Linked DNA regions of Homo sapiens: region 1 is linked to region 2. The links are contacts of gene promoters, found by promoter capture Hi-C in human tissues and cell types (Jung and others, 2019). All regions are on one chromosome and are shown on one strand. The core of a region is centred on a gene start or on the middle of the fragment in contact, and the rest is flanking DNA. Distances in the headings are between cores, read along the strand shown. Region 1 overlaps DUSP11 (dual specificity phosphatase 11). Region 2 holds the start of STAMBP (STAM binding protein).

Region 1 (2,700 bases), core at 116-2,615, 53 kb before region 2:
TGGTTTATAATAGCGTTGAGTATATGTTAAATCAATAATCAGTCCAAGTTCTTCATTTTGTTCTCGGATTTTGTTAAAAAGATCCAAAGGGGAAAAGCATTCTTCTGGAGCAAGTTTCTTTTCAAAACTCTGTCACAGAGAATGAAATAAGAGCAAATATGTGCTTAAAATCCTGTACTACATTAGGCATTTATTCAAGTCCTGTGATGCTAACATACAACGAGATTCAAAGGAAAGTTTCCATTCTCCTGGAACATAGAAGGTATATTACAACAATCCTTTCTTCCAGAGTGGTCAGAAAGAAAAAAATAAGCCCACTTCTATATATGTATTTCTGTATTTGTTTCATGTTGGTCTCCTAATCAGACTGTAATCTCCCAGATTTTATTCACCACTGTATCTCCAGCTCCAGGTGGAGTGCTTATCATATTTAGTGCTTATAAATATTTCTTTTCTTTTTTTTTTTTTTTTTTTGAAACAGGGTGTTGCTCTGTCATCCGTCATCCAGGCTGGAGTGCAGTGACACAAACATGGCTCACTGCAGCCTCCACCTCCTGGGCTCAAGCAATACTCCCACCTCAACCTCACAAGTAGCTGGGACTACAGGCATGAACCACCACACCTGGCCTTTTTTTTTTTTTTTTAAAGAGATAGGGTCAGCTGGGCGCAGTGGTTCACACCTGTAATCCCAGCACTTTGGGAGGCCAAGGCGGGAGGATCACAAGGTCAGGAGATCGAGACCATCCTGGCTAACACTGTGAAACCCCGTCTCTACTAAAAATACAAAAAATTAGCCAGGGGTGGTGGCAGGCGCCTGTAGTCCCAGCTACCGGGAGGCTGAGGCAGGAGAATGGCGTGAACCCGGGAGGCAGAGCTTGCAGTGAGCCGAGATCACACCACTGCACTCCAGCCTGGGTGACAGAGTGACTCCATCTCAAAAAAAAAATTTAAAAAAAAAAAAAAAAAAAAAAAAGAGATAGGGTCTTGCCGTCTTGCCATGTAGCCCAGGCTGATCTCAAACTCCTGAGCTCAAGCAACCCTCCTGTCTCGGCCTCACAAATAAATATTTCTCACATGTCTACATATATGAAGGATGGCTTTCATTGCTGAATATTCTTTTATGTATGTGGCTTATTTTTGAACTTTATGCTCTGTTCCTTCAATCTGTCTGGCTACTCAGGTGCCAGCAATGTACTTTTTAAAAAATAGACTAGTTTGGCTGGGTGCGGTGGCTCAAGCCTGTAATCCCAGCACTTTGGGAGGCCGAGGCAGGAGGATCACGAGGTCAGGAGATCGAGACCATCCTGGCTAACACGGTGAAACCCCATCTCTACTAAAAACACAAAAAAATTAGCCAGGCGTGGTGGCAGGCGCCGGTAGTTCCAGCTACTCAGGAGGCAGAGGCAGGAGAATGGCGTGAACCCAGGAGGCAGAGCTTGCAGTGAACCAAGATCACACCACTGCACTCCAGCCTGGGCGACAAGCGAGACACCATCTCAAAAAAAAAAAAAAAAAAATAGACTAGTTTTCAGAGCAGTTTTAGGTTCACAGCAAAACTGAGCCAAAAGGACAGATAGTTCCCACATGTACTTTGCCTTCCCCAACCCACCCAGACTCCCCCACTATCCACATTCCATACCAGTGTGGTCCATTTGTTACAAATGAAGAACCAACTCTGACACATCGTTATCACCAAAGTCTAGAGGTTAGGTATGCGTGATTCATTCTATGTTATGCATTGTATGTACATATTATGTTATATATATTTTGCCACAAAAAAAATGAGAGAAAGAACTAAGTTCAAGTTTTGATTCTTCCTTTTCTGAGCCTGTTTGATTATCTACAAAATTATTTATTAGATGTAACCATCTATTCTCTGAGCTTAGTGCAGAATAAGCACTCAGTAAGAGATATTAGTACTACTGCTACTTCATCAGCACAGGATTGTTGTGAAATGTGTTAATATACGTGAAGCCCTTTTATAGGTTTTGATCAATATATAACATGTATCCACCCTTAGAGTATCACACAGAATAGTTTCACTTCCCTAAAAATTCCCTGTGTCTCCAACACCTTCTTTTTGGAGACAGGGTCTTGCTCTGTTGCCCAGGCTGGAGTACAGTGGCATGATCATGGCTCACTGCAGCCTTGACCTCCTGGGTTCAATCGATCCTCCCACTTCAGCCTCCTGAGCAGCTGAGACTACAAGCACACGCCACCGCGCCTGGTTAATTTTTGTATTTTTTGTAGAGACACGGTTTCAGTGTTGCCCAGGCTGGTCTAAAACTCCTGGACTCAAGCGATACACCCACCTTGCCTCCCAAAGTACTGGATTACAAACATGATCCAACAGGCCTGGCCTGAAATGACTCATTTTTAAGCCCAGACATGCAGAGAAGCTGACACAGCAGTTGAAAAAGGAAATCTGATCTATAAGTCACAAATTAAGTAAATTCCCAAAACGTTTCAAGTAGGCTTCTCCTGATACTAATCTGAGCTATGCTGGGGAAGTCTAATAAGAAAGACATGGAATCTAGAAAACAATTATTTGTCTTCACCTTCTCATCTTTTTTATGGCTGTCAAAAGCTTTCCCCTCCTATCCCTCCTATTCCTTTCCTAGTTTAAACAAAAATACAATCTTCAGATTTTCCCCACTGAAATCCTGACCTTGATGATCCGGGGGATATTTCTGATTGTGA
Region 2 (2,700 bases), core at 46-2,545:
GAGTTTTGAAGACACAGTAGAGTGCCCTATACAATTATCTTCCCAGATTTATCTGCAGTAGATCCATGAGAGTTGATAGTAGACCCATGCACATTAATGCTTGCTGGGGGCAGAAGGGGAGGTGATATGATGCAAGCAAGTACTTTCAACCCTAAGTCTGAAAAGTTGATGACTACACAAAATCACTTCAGGTAACTCCAACAGAAATATACACAACGGAGGTTGGGAGAAATGAGAGATCTGGAGGCTGGCTAGGTGGAGGAGGCAACACCTGAATTAGGGATTTAAGCTAGACCTTGAAGAATAGGTCATGCCATCACACTAACAAACTCACAGGGAGGCTCCCAAATTTTGGGAAAGTGTCCCCCAGAGACTTAGACTTTTAAACCAAAGCCTAATGTTTCACAAAGTCTTCTGAGACAGAATGATTAGCAAGCTTGTAGGACCTTTTTGTAAAGAGGATGTATATGGATTCGTACAGACACACATCTACATGCAGAACGTGCCATTCTGTATTTGATGCATAAAACCACCTTGTCCCGGTCTCAGGGCAGGAACAGTGTCATACAGATTTTTGTGTCTCCACTGCTTTTGCATAGCGGCTCTTAGAGATTAAACGCTTTTTTTCCAAATATTTTATAGGTTTTTTGACATTAAAACGTTAGTCTCATCTGGGTGCGGTGGCACACGCCAGTAATCCCAGTACTTTGGGAGGCAGAGGCAAGAAGATCGCTTGAGCCCTGAAGTTGGAGACCACAGTGAGCTATGATCACACCACTGCACTCCTGTGACAGCCTGGGTGACACCGCAAGACCCTGTCTTAAAAAAAAAAAAAGTTAGACTTATGTTCTTTTCTAAGCAATAAAATTAGTCTTAGATATTGCCTAATATCTAAGACTACCAATTTTTGTGTAGAATGTAATACAAGCTAAAAAATACATTCGAAAGACTTTCTGTCCCCCAATTTATAAATCCTGGTTAGTTTAGCTAAGTCTGCAGTTGTGCTGGGATCAGCAATCCCTCCTTAAATGCAGGAGTATTGTGAGTGTGATGAGGGACTACCCCAAATCAAAATAATTTTAAAAGCAAACCTTAGCTTGCTAATTGGTTCCACTTTCTTCCTTGTTCCTTTTCCTTTACCAAGATGGCCGCTGTGTCGTTCGCTCCTCATTGGTCGGATTTTCCGCAGGTGCCGATTCTAGCCCCACCTACTAGCTCTCCGTTCCAAGTCCTAAATCACTGGGAATGTAATAGACAGACGAACGGGAGTGGGCGGAGCGGGCGCCGGATGTGACGTTTCCGGAACCTCCGGGTGTCATCCGCGGGGAAAGGTGGGGAAGGGTCCCGGGAACGTGGTGGGGCAGGGCCTCCGAGCGTGGTTGGACTTTGAAGGGGATCGGCCGCCGTGAGTGTGGGGCCTGCAGCCTACTCTCCCCGAGTCCCCTGCCCGGCCTGCCTCGCTCGAGGCACCCGACGGCTTCTGTCTCCGCGGGCTGGCGCCTGACCAGCCAGGCCCAGCGGTTCCCCGCCTACTGCATTTGAAAGATCCCGAAAACCCTGGATGATTGTGCCTGGGGTTGGCAAGTTCGTCTTGAGTGCCTTCAAGAAGGGTTCCTCAAGCAGTTGTCGATAGAGCCCTCCCTACTGTATACGCCCCCTCCGCTCATTCCTGCTACTTCCTTTCTCCTCCTCGTATTTCCCCCTCGGTCCTTTACGCCGCCTTTCCCCCTCATTTGCAGATGCTGCATCCCCTTTTTGGAATTGCTCAACCAGGTGGTAACCGGCGCCGCTTCCTGGCCTTGGGAGGTGGTTCCTTTCTTAACCCACAAGAACCTCTCCCAAGAGGTACTGAGATGCAACAAGCATCCTCTGTTTCAGTTAACTTTCATGGGCCGTGGACTAGGTTTACTAATTACTTGGGGAGGTTTTAGATATGCTTGCGGCTTTCTGAGTCCCTAAGGAGGCCTCGTGAGAGATGGACTATCTCTGCATCCCTAGTAGTCCTCACGGCTTTTGTGCTATTAGTGAGGGTGTTTTAGAGGGGAAGGTTTGTGGAGGAATTGTGACCCGAATATTGAAGAGACCTAAAGATGGAATTGGCTGAGAGAAGACTACCCCTGAGGGAAGAGTTGTAGTAGAAAAGAAAAACTGGATAGATAAATGAAACTGAAATGTGAGGATGCCTGGGCGGATTGGAATCCTGACTGAAGCAAAAGATCTCTGTTGGGGAGGGCCAGTTGCCACAGGGCCTTGAATTCCAAGATTTATTCTACTGTAGTTTGTGTATTCTAGAGCATACTGATTAGGGTTTGCTGTAATGCAATGTGTGTCAAATGCCCAGTTTTATTTTGGAGATGATAGTGGTGATATCTGGTTGGAATTTGGAATCTGATTCTAACAGCAACTATATCTAGAAAGACTAGAATTACTGGAGTTTTGGGACACCAGGGGTTTTTGCAATGCAAGTTACCATCGTGCCTTTTTGTTATTCAGTGTTTAGTCTATGAAGATGAGTAAATGGTTGTTTTCAAGATTTAAGTCTCTTGCCATGATAATGATGAATGAATGATTTTATAGATTGACTATAGTGGTTTAGTGAGCAGAGTTACAATTATGAGCATTAATTCCCAGACCAGTTCCCCTAACTCACCTTGTGCTCAAATATGAAAAAGGATACCACAGAAAATGTCAGTTACTCTC

The links. Contacts are between HindIII fragments. The study calls those that stand out against the background at their distance.
Region 1: a contact is called between a fragment that was not itself captured here and the fragment with the promoter of STAMBP in region 2, in 1 of the 25 tissues and cell types used here (hippocampus).

The regions. Positions count from the first base shown.
Region 1 is chr2:73,774,916-73,777,615 of GRCh38, forward strand. It overlaps DUSP11 (dual specificity phosphatase 11), which reads right to left. Exons shown (of 9, transcript NM_003584.3): 3 at 1-129. Among named protein-coding and RNA genes, the nearest start is that of DUSP11, 3.8 kb to the right of the region's middle. The HindIII fragment of the contact is 4,714 bases long and covers 1-2,700 here.
Region 2 is chr2:73,827,666-73,830,365 of GRCh38, forward strand. It overlaps STAMBP (STAM binding protein), which reads left to right and starts at 1,296. Exons shown (of 10, transcript NM_213622.4): 1 at 1,296-1,845. LOC105374807 (a long non-coding RNA gene) reads right to left here. Exons shown (of 3, transcript XR_940246.3): 1 at 2,651-2,700; 2 at 1,092-1,239. RefSeq lists a silencer at 1,067-1,285. The HindIII fragment of the contact is 10,781 bases long and covers 1-2,700 here.